2 separate regions of the Homo sapiens genome follow, and region 1 is linked to region 2. The links are contacts of gene promoters, found by promoter capture Hi-C in blood cells and fetal thymus (Javierre and others, 2016). All regions are on one chromosome and are shown on one strand. Each heading gives the region's core, a stretch centred on a gene start or on the middle of the fragment in contact. The rest is flanking DNA. Distances are from core to core; before and after follow the strand shown.

Region 1 (5,025 bases), core at 2,438-4,937, 78 kb after region 2:
TAGTGGGTGCAGGTGGCGTTGCGAGCACACTCTCCTGCCGCGTGGCTGTACCGCTGCCCCTCTGCAAACCATAGGCTGACCACTTCAACAAAGGACGCCAAGCCCGCGGGCAGCAGCTGCATGTTCCAGCCCACTTGCAGGGTGCGCCACAGGCCGGACGCCAGGCTCGGGGTTGGGATTCCACAGAGGGCTGCCCTGGCTTGAGCCAGTTGGGCCAGGCTGTCACTCCAGTCCTGGGGGCAGCACAAACAGACATCTGTGGGAGGCCTTTGACTGCTGGGCCAGGCCTCAAAGATTCAACTCCCCTGCCATCTCTGAGCATCCACCGGGTGCCAGGTCAGGTGGCAAAGAGAGCACTGGATGAGGAGTCCTGCTGGAGGAAGCACTGGTGTTGTCTGATGTCCCTCCAGGAGGAGCCCAGCTCCTCTCACGACTGAGCCTCCATCTCCAAATCCTGTCGTGGGCATCCTTCGGCCCTGCCCAGGCAGTGGGACCCGCTCCTGCTGTCTTTCTCCCATCTGGTCATGTGAGCAGTGCCCACGCGTTGCAGACTGGTTCTGTGTTTGGGCCCTGGCCATTGTCAGAAAGGCTCCACTGCTCCCACCCGGCCATGCTGCCCTCCTGTGATGCAAAAAGCCCTACAGCCACGCCTCTCTGCCCTAGTCTCCTGCCCCCAGGAGCCTGGCCTCATATGCTCCCCACCACGCACAGCTGACCCCGCCCCCTCCCTCTTCTTTTTTTTTTTGAGACAGAGTCTCACCCTGTCGCCCAGGCTGGAGTGCAGTGGAGAAATCCCGGCTTACTGCAACCTCCGCCTCCCAGGTTCAAGCAATTCTCCTGCCTCAGCCTCCCAAGCAGCTGGGATTACAGCCATGTGACACCACACCTGGCTAATTTTTGTATTTTTAGTAGAGACGGGGTTTCACCATGTTGGCCATTGCTGGTCTCAAACTGCTGACCTTAGGTGATCTGCTTGTGTCAGCCTCCCAGAGTGCTGGGATTACAGGTGTGAGCCACCGTGCCCAGCCCCCTCCCTCTTCTTAAACAAGTGGGCCTGGCAATCACCACCCCTGGGTGACTTGGTGCAGTCCCCTGATCTCCCGAGACTCCCTGAGCTCATCTGTAAACGGAGCAGGGAGGTGCCTGCAGGATAGGACTCACAAGCACTGAGTGGATGCAGGGAGGGGGGCCCCTCGGGGCTGCACCCCAAGCCAACTTCATCCTGCACTAATGTCCATCGGGGTTTTACCTCTGATGAAGGCTGGGGCCAGGAGCTGGGGGCTCCCCGGGGTCCCTCAGCAGCCCTCCACCCCCACAAGACCTTCAGTCTCCACTGTGTCCAAAGAAGGGGTGCCCTGGAGCCCTAGAGGCCCGGAGGGTGCTCGGGGCCGGGCCACGAGGGAGGCTGAGCCATGGAGCTCCATTTGCACCTTTATGGAAATGAAGTTTTCTAAGACTTTGACAAAAGGGCCCTGGAAAGGGTGCCAGCTGCCAGCCAACGACCACCGCAGCCCCTCCTGGGGTCCCAGGCAGGAGTACCCAACCACGGAGGTCACAGCTGGGAGCACCCCTGGTTGCCCAGGGTCTGAGCCTGAGGAGAGGCAGAGCCACTCAGGGCTGGGAATGGGGGAGAAGCGACCCCCCGCATTTAGCCACCCCACCCCCACCTCCTGGGAAACTGACCCTAGAGTGCTCAAGGTCGCCACTGTGGCCACCTGCCTTGGAGGAGTTCATGGGAAGCAGCCATGGGGAACCCTCCCGCCCCCACCACCCTGCCCTGGCTCCCTGGCCTGCTAACATGGGCTGGGGCTGCTGGGGTCCCAGACAATGGAGGGCAGCGTTTCTGAGCCTCCAGATGACAGTCCCAACCCCGCAGCCCCAGCCGGGCTGGTGGGGAACTCTATACCCCCGACCCCCGGCCCCTGCTGAAAATGTGGAAAATGTGGACGAGTGAGTGAGCAGAGAACATGGGCAAGGCCCGTCCTCGTGGCTCAGATAAGCTCAGGAGGAGGCGCTGGGTCCTTGCCGCACAGAAGCCCCTCCCCAGCCCAGCACGACCTTCTCCCTCCCTGGCCCGGCCGCCCATCCTGCAGGGCTCCTCGTGAAGCTCCCCTTCCCTGGAGGAGGGGATCCGGCTCCTCCTGTGGCTCCTGGTCTCTGTGGCAACAAGATGCCAGGGAAGGCCCAAGGTCCTGCCCTTCAGGCGAGTGGGAGCCAAGGGGCCCGACCTCCTGAACTGAGGGTGGGGGGTTAAGAAACTGCAGAGACCCCCAGCAACCAGGGCCTCCGTCCCTCAGGGGCAAGGTGGCTGGCTGTGCCTGCCCACCCTGGTCAAGTGGAAGGGCACCTGGACAGGCGTGGCCTCCTGAGCCGCCCTCTGGGGTCCGCGCCTCCGGCCACCCCCCTGGCAGAGCCCAGCTGGGTCGGGTACTCACCAGCCTCCGCATGTCAGCCGCAGGGGGCTGGACCCAGCTGCGCAGGCGGTTGTGCAGGGAGAGGAGCAAGAAACTCTCCTTCCTGTTCAGGGCTGGGGTGGAGAGAGAAGGTCAGGCAGCCCGAGGATGGGGGGACCTGAACCCAACACACGGCAGAATAAGCATGTGTCCCTGCCCTTGGAAAACAAGATGGGAGAGGAGTGTGGTGGGTGCAGGGGACGTGGGGCATAGCAATGGAGCGAGGCTGAGAGAGAGACCAGGTACAGCAGGCGTGGGCTGAGTGCTGGGGTTGGGGTGGCGGGAGGGAACAGCGGTGCGGGCTGGGTGTAGGGGCCAGCCCTGGCTCCCGCAGGCCCCTGTCTGGGGCTCCTCCGGGCCACGGATTTCTCCAGGCCCCAGCCACAGCGCTCCTCGGCGTTCCTCCTTGACCCCAGCCCTGGTCCTCCTTCCTCCTCCTTCCTCCCCAGTCCAGCATCCACCCCTCACCGCCCCCGGGCTGTCCCAGGGCTTCCTCATTAAACCACCCGCACGGCCTGGGGCTCAGGCCTGGGACCGGGCTTCCAGAAGTCTCCTAGCACCCACTCCTCAGAGCTCATAATGGTGCCTCCACCTACCTCCTCACCAGGTGTCCCTTACCTCCGGCCATCGGAGCCTGCTCCTGCAGCTGGGGTGGCCACACCTCTGCCCAGGCGGTGCCAAGGAGGGCCAGGAGCACAGCCAGGAGATGCCCCCGGCCAGGGGAGGTCTCTGGATGCAGCATGGGTCTGTTGGGCCCGTCAGGCACTCCGTGCACAGCCTGGCTCAGCCACCCGGCTTGTTTCTCAGGCTGGATGGAGCTATTCACAATCTCCAGGAGTCAGGCTGGGCTGGTGGACAAAAGAGGGAGGCTGGTGAGTGAGTAATCAGTGTGTCCAGACAGCCTCCTGTTGGCGCTGGCATGAAAAGAGACAACTCCGGGGGATGCCTGCCTGCTCCGGCCTCGGCCTGGCCAGCCCGCCCCCGACAGCAGGCAGAGTGGCGTGCACTGACCCGCGGCCCCTGCTAATCATTGTGGGATTATTAGCACCCTTGGGGAGCCCCCAGAGACCCCGCTGATTGGCCTGCGGACATTCCAGTGCTGCAGATTAGTGACCGATGGCCGTGTCCTGGCTGGGACAGTGTCCTCCGAGCCCACTGATGGCTTCCGCTCCCCAGCCCCGGGCCCTGGGAGGAGGACCTCGGCTATGGTCCTTCTGGTGAGCAGAAACTGGGCAAGACCCCAGGGGAGTTCTTTCCTTTCTTGGGAAGCTCGTCCCAACCCCCCAGCCATGAATTAAACATAGGCAAGAGGTAACCGCACACCAGAGGGGTGCAATCTGTGGGCTCAAAGGGGGGTGGGCTGAGGCCGCACCTGCACGAGGAAAAGGGTGCCTTAGGAAAGTCTGTCTGGGCAGGGTCGGGGGCTGGGCCCAGCCCCGGTGCCCACCACCCTCACCAACGTGACTACAGGCCAGGGGGGGAGTGAGGCAGGAGGAGTCAAAGCAGGCGGGGACCAGAGCACGTGATGCCCTGGGCTGACTCCAGTCCTGCTGGGATCACGTCCGCCTCTAGAAAAACAGGTGGCGTAGCAGGTGGGCAGCACGTTGCCATGATGTGCCGTGGCCCGGCCGTGGCTGGCGTGATCCCACCAGAGTGAGCTGGAGCAGATCTGCACCATGGGCCAAGTTTCTCAGAAAATACATAGCTTCCTGTGGGCTGCAGCCTAATGCCCACGTTCCTCTCGGGGAAGACCAAAGGTTATTCAACCAGGGCAAAGGACAGCCTTGCAAACCAACTACGTCCTCCTTCTGGAGTTTGTGTGACCCCTGGCCCCTGAGCCCACACCCTCTCGGAGCGGGGTTCCAACTCCGTGGAAGCTCTGCTGAGATGCAGGTAGGGTTGGCTTTCCTGGGGAAACACCAGTGGAATGTGGCTATCGTCATGGGTGCCAGGGATGGGGATGAGGCCAGGCATACAGGCCATGAAGGCGGTCTGGAACTGCATGTCCCCCACAATACCTAGGGGCTCAGGAGTTTCTTCTCCCTCAAACAGAAACCCAGCACCCTCAGGGTCACTGCGTGTGGGTCCTAGCAATGCTTAATAGCTACCTGTTTTTTGATGTATTTTTATTTTTATTTTTTAGACAGTTTCACTCTGCCACTCAGGTTGGAGTGTTATAATCTCAGCTCACTGCAGCCTTGACCTCTTGGGCCCAAGTGATCCTCCCACCTCAGCCTCCCAAGGAGCTGGGACCAGGTGTGTGCCACCATGCCTGGCTAATTATTATTATTTTTTTTGGTAGAGACAGGATTTCATCGTCTTGCCCAGGCTGGTCTCCAACTCCTGGGCTCAAGGGATCTTCCCACCTTGGCCTCCCAAAGTGCTGGGGTTGCAGGCATGAGCCACCACACCTGGCCGAGCCACCTGTGTTTATGGAGCTCACAAAGCCTGTTTGCATGTGTGAGTTCAAGTTATTGCCACAAGAACCTGGTGCAGTAGCAGATGGGATGCCCGTCGTGTAGATGAGGAAACGGGCTTAGTGTGTCTAAGGGGCTTGTCCAAGGTCACTCAG
Region 2 (5,393 bases), core at 774-3,273:
TGGATGACTTGGACCGAGCCAGCAAAGCCGATGTCCAGAAACGAGTGAGTCCTGGCAGCACCAGTGGCCAGAGTGTTTCCTAGGCAAAGGCTGGCAGAACAGCCAGGGGTTCGGGGCCTGGGCTTTTGGTCTGAGCTGCTGTTCTGGACTTTTTTCTTGCAGGTGTTAGAGAAGACGAAGCAGTTCATCGACAGCAACCCCAACCAGCCTCTTGTCATCCTGGAGATGGAGAGCGGCGCCTCAGCCAAGGCAACCCAGGGGCCAGGGTCCCCTCCCCTAGGGCTCATCAGCTCTCTGGTGGCTGACATGTGGCCTCTGTGGCTCTGAGCGAAGTGGTTGCCTAAGGGCCCACGGTCTGGGATTGAGATTGGGAGGAGCAGCAGCTCCCTGCATGTGGGAGGCATACCTGGGCCAGGGTAGGGGCAGGGCCCGGCGCTGGGGTCCTCCCCACAGGCCCTGGGCACAGCCCCTGCTCTGGGAAGGGGTAGGGGTGGGTGGCAGGCCTTCTGAGGGCTGCAAATGCTCACACTAGTGAGGGTCCCTGCTCCAGCACCGTGGCCTGAGCCAGGTCCTCCCCACAGGCCCTGAATGAAGCCTTGAAGCTCTTCAAGATGCACTCCCCTCAGACTTCTGCCATGCTCTTCACGGTGGACAATGAGGCTGGCAAGATCACGTGCCTGTGTCAAGTTCCCCAGGTCAGCACCACCTCGCACCAGTGGGAAGTGTTAGGTCTTAAGGTTGTTGGCTGAGGCCTGTGTGTGTACAGCCTGCATTCGAAACAGCCTTTCTGCCCACCGGTTGGTTACCTTTGCCAGTACCCCTTACCCAGGCCTTCTTATTGGTGAAGACATCTGGTTGATACCTGGCTTTGCCACTCTGTCCTGTCCTGGCAGTGGCCATGGCCGCCCCCTGTACCAGCCGTAAAGTCTGTCTCGGCCTCCAGCAGTATCACCCAGGGCAAGGAGTGGGTGATGGCTCCTCCATCCTTTCTTTCCCTGCATTCCTCCCTCAATCCCATCTTCTGTGCTGACTCCCCCTTCCCTTCCTGTCTTCTAGAATGCAGCCAATCGGGGCTTAAAAGCCAGCGAGTGGGTGCAGCAGGTGTCAGGCTTGATGGACGGTAAAGGTGGTGGCAAGGATGTGTCTGCACAGGCCACAGGCAAGAACGTTGGCTGCCTGCAGGAGGCGCTGCAGCTGGCCACTTCCTTCGCCCAGCTGCGCCTCGGGGATGTAAAGAACTGAGTGGGGAAGGAGGAGGCTCCCACTGGATCCATCCGTCCAGCCAAGAGCTCTTCATCTGCTACAAGAACATTTGAATCTTGGGACCTTTAAAGAGCCCCTCCTAACCCAGCAGTAACTGGAACACACTTGGGAGCAGTCCTATGTCTCAGTGCCCCTTAAATTTCTGCCCTGAGCCCTCCACGTCAGTGCCATCGGTCTAGAACCACTAACCCCGCATTGCTGTTGATCGTCACGCTCGCATCTATAGATAACGGCTCTCCAGACCTGAGCTTTCCGCGTCAGCAAGTAGGAATCGTTTTTGCTGCAGAGAATAAAAGGACCACGTGCAATACTTAATGCCGCATGATCTCTATCCCTCTTCCCAATAGGGGCTGGCTCTTTTGACAGCCTTTGGCGTCTGTAGAATAAATGCTGTGGCTCCTGCTGGCTGCTGTGGTGTTCACCTAGTCCAGCCCCAGAACCCAAAATTTTGGGAACAGCCCCTAGGGCTGCCTCAAACGTCTGTGGAGGTGGAGGCCAAATAGGTGGGGTGACTTGGAGCAAGGCGTTCATAATTCAGTAGATGAGGGGTGGAGGTAGTTGGAAGCAGAGAAGCCTTTCTTGGAGCTGCTCTCCCCCCTCCCTTCCAGCAAGATGGATGGATCCGGCTACCCTGCACAACTGGGACCGGGCCGTTCTCCCTCCGGGCCTCCAGGGGCGCTGTAGTGCCTCCCGCCGCTCTCTCGACAGCCCATGCGCAGCCGCGCGTCTTTAAACAACGGAAGAACCAGTGGATGCGGCAGGGCGTTGGGCGGAAGGGGTTCGCACGCCAAGAACCGCCATGCCTGGGGATCACCGCCGCATCCGCGGCCCTGAAGAATCGCAGCCGCCGCAGCTGTACGCGGCCGACGAGGAGGAGGCGCCCGGCACCCGCGACCCAACGCGGCTACGGCCCGTGTACGCGCGCGCCGGGCTGCTGAGCCAGGCCAAGGGCTCGGCCTACCTGGAGGCGGGAGGCACCAAGGTGCTGTGTGCCGTGTCGGGCCCGCGACAGGCCGAGGGCGGCGAGCGCGGCGGCGGCCCGGCCGGAGCAGGCGGCGAGGCCCCGGCCGCGCTGCGCGGTCGCCTGCTCTGCGACTTCCGCCGCGCACCCTTCGCGGGCCGCCGGCGCCGCGCTCCCCCGGGCGGCTGCGAGGAGCGTGAGCTGGCGCTGGCGCTGCAGGAGGCGCTGGAGCCGGCTGTGCGCCTGGGCCGCTACCCGCGCGCGCAGCTCGAGGTGTCGGCGCTGCTGCTGGAGGACGGTGGCTCGGCCCTGGCCGCCGCGCTCACCGCCGCCGCGCTCGCCCTGGCCGACGCGGGCGTGGAGATGTACGACCTGGTGGTGGGCTGCGGCCTCAGCCTCGCGCCGGGGCCCGCGCCCACCTGGCTCCTGGACCCCACGCGGCTCGAGGAAGAGCGCGCCGCCGCCGGCCTCACCGTGGCGCTCATGCCTGTGCTGAATCAGGTGGCCGGGCTGCTGGGCAGCGGCGAGGGCGGCCTGACAGAGAGCTGGGCGGAGGCCGTACGCCTGGGCCTCGAGGGCTGCCAGCGCCTCTACCCCGTGCTGCAGCAGAGCCTGGTGCGGGCCGCCCGCCGCAGGGGCGCCGCCGCCCAGCCCTGAACCAGAAGCCTGAGCAACTACGGACGCAAGCCGAGGACCGTGCTGCCGCCGTCCACGAAAAGACCCGCGCCATCGGCCTCCAGTTTGCGTCGAGAATTCCTGGAAGGGCCCTGATATGACTGTGGTTGGACTGACCTGACTGCCAGATGGTGGGACTTGGTCTGGAGCAGGGACTACTTGGAATGATAAAGGCAAAACTCAACAGCCCCTGGAGCTGCGCTTGTGGTGGAGCTGGACCCTGAAATTACCTGGACCTTTTTTTTAGAGACAGGGTTTCTTTCTGCAGTCTCAAACTCCTAGCCTTGATTGATCCTCCTGCCTTGGCCTCCCAAAGTGCTGGGACTACAGGTGCATGCAACCACACCTGGCTAATTTTCTTTTCTTCTTTCTTTCTTTTTTTTTTTTTTTTTTTTTTGATGGAGTCTTGTTCTGTTGCCCAGGCTGGAGTGCAATGGTGCAATCTTGGCTCACTGCAACCTCTGCCTCCTGGGTTCAATCCATTCTCCTGCCTCAGCCTCCCAAGTAGCTGGGATTACAGGCACATGCCTCCATACCGGGCTAATTTTTGTATTTTTAGTAGAGATGGGGTTTCGCCATGTGGGCCAGGCTGTTCTCGAATGCCTGACCTCAGGTGATCCACCCGCCTTGGCCTCCCAAAGTGCTGGAATTACAGGTGTGAGCCACTGTGCCCAGCTGAGTAAATTTCTTGATTGCACAGAATGTACGGTGATATTGGCGGACTTAAGGACATCGAATTGTTTATCAGGAATAAAGTATTATGTGTGTTTTCTGCGGCCCTGGATAATGCTGTAGCATTCAGGGTCGATTGAGTAAAAAAAATGTAGAGATGGTTTCCTGTTTGTTTTTGCTTCTAGTTTTCATTCATTTGCTATTTATTCTCTTCTGGCTTTGCTTGTGTATGCATATATATAAAACCATTATTATTATTATTATTATTTTTAGTTTCTAGTGGAAGGCTTTTATTTGGTTCTGTGAATAGTCATTTTGTTTCCTAAGAACTTCCAGCAAGTTGTATTCATTCCATTCATCTAGAATTCCTAGGCTGCCTTTGTCGGGCCTGCAGGTATTAATGGAGAATAGCAGCTTTTTATTTTTTTATATTTATTTTTTGAGACAGAGTCTCACTCTGTTGCCCAGGCTGGAGTGCAATGGCGCGATCTCAGCTCACTGCAACCTCCGCCTCAGAGGTTCAAGTGATTCTCCTGCCTCAGCCTCTGGAATAGCTGGGACTACAGGCACCTGCCACCACACCCAGCTAACTTTTTGTATTTTTAGAGAAGATGGGGTTTCATCATGTTGGCCAAGCTGGTCTCAAACTCCTGATCTCAGTGATCCATCTGCCTCAGCCTCCCAAAGTTATAAGATTTTTTTCCTCTGGTTTTTAGTAAATGTTTTTTTTGAGATTGCTTAGCACCAGAATGATTTGCAAATTTGAAAATAGGAACTCCACTAGGAATGCCGGATAGAAGAGTGCTTCACATTTGTAGAGGGAGACAAGAACTAAATATCACGACGTCTTTCTGAGCCTTTTGGTTTGCTAACGTGCCCCAAATTCTTATTCCAAACGGTATAAGATAATTATGTGTAAATGAATACCAGCTCTACTTAGTTTTATTTCATATTTGTGTATCTGAATATATTAAAATATCTTTTTTTTTTTTTTGATGCGGAGTCTTGCTCTGTTGTCCAGCCTGGAGTGCAGTGGCATGATCTCGGCTCACTGCAACCTCTGCCTCCCAGGTTCAAGCGATTCTCCTGCCTCAGCCTCCTAAGTAGCTGGTATTACAGGAGTGTGCCATTAGCCTGGCTAATTTTTGTATTTTTAGTAGAGATGGATTTTCATTGTGTTGGCCATGCTGGTCTTGAACTCCTGACCTCAAGTGATCCTCCTGCCTTGGCCTCCCAAAGTACTGTGATTACTATCATGAGCCACCACACCTGGCCTAAAAGATCATTGATTTAGTTTTGAGTAAGATTTTAAGTGATTAAATTATGGTATTGTTGTGTCTGGAATATCTGATATTAGGGTTTTTTTTTTTTTTTTTTACAGTTTTTGATATGCTTTATTTTGGGTATGTAGTTTACAAAATATAAAGGAAATATAAGGAGTGTTCTCTTTTTTTTTTAAATAAAAAGTGTATTTTTAACTGGGCATGGTGGCTCACTCCTGTAACCCCAGCACTGTGGGAGGCTGAGGCTGGTGAATCGCCTGAGTCCAGGAGTTTGAGACCAGCCTGGGCAACAAGGTGAAACCCTGTTTCTATCAAAAAAAAAAAAAAAAAAAAAAAAGGAAAAAAAATAAGTCAGGCATGGTGGTATGCACCTGTAGTCCCAGCTACTTGAAGGCTGAGGCAGGAGGATCGCTTGTGCCTGGGAGGTTGAAGCTACAGTGAGCTATGGTCAAGCTACTGCACTCCATTATAGGCAACCCTATCTCAAAAAAGCAAAGCAAAACAAAACATTTTTCCCCTTGATTATAGAGGTTTGAGAA

Evidence for each region. The method cuts DNA at HindIII sites, captures the fragments that hold promoters and counts their contacts. A CHiCAGO score of 5 or more calls a contact.
Region 1: a contact is called between the fragment with the promoter of CLEC18C here and the fragment with the promoter of EXOSC6 in region 2, in 1 of 17 cell types (endothelial precursors). The highest score is 7.3, in endothelial precursors.

What each region holds. Positions count from the first base shown.
Region 1 is chr16:70,172,449-70,177,473 of GRCh38, reverse strand. It overlaps CLEC18C (C-type lectin domain family 18 member C), which reads right to left and starts at 3,687. Exons shown (of 13, transcript NM_173619.4): 1 at 3,523-3,687; 2 at 3,072-3,301; 3 at 2,436-2,527; 4 at 1-233. The coding sequence starts at 3,195. It overlaps LOC400541 (a long non-coding RNA gene), which reads left to right and starts at 4,026. Exons shown (of 3, transcript NR_126007.1): 1 at 4,026-4,346. The HindIII fragment of the contact is 29,094 bases long and covers 1-5,025 here.
Region 2 is chr16:70,248,570-70,253,962 of GRCh38, reverse strand. It overlaps EXOSC6 (exosome component 6), which reads left to right and starts at 2,023. Exons shown (of 1, transcript NM_058219.3): 1 at 2,023-5,393. The coding sequence starts at 2,063. The coding sequence ends at 2,881. It overlaps AARS1 (alanyl-tRNA synthetase 1), which reads left to right. Exons shown (of 21, transcript NM_001605.3): 18 at 1-44; 19 at 163-249; 20 at 582-695; 21 at 1,057-1,665. The coding sequence ends at 1,242. RefSeq lists enhancers at 482-982, 1,617-1,806, 1,847-1,896 and silencers at 2,277-2,366, 2,497-2,816. The HindIII fragment of the contact is 9,148 bases long and covers 1-5,393 here.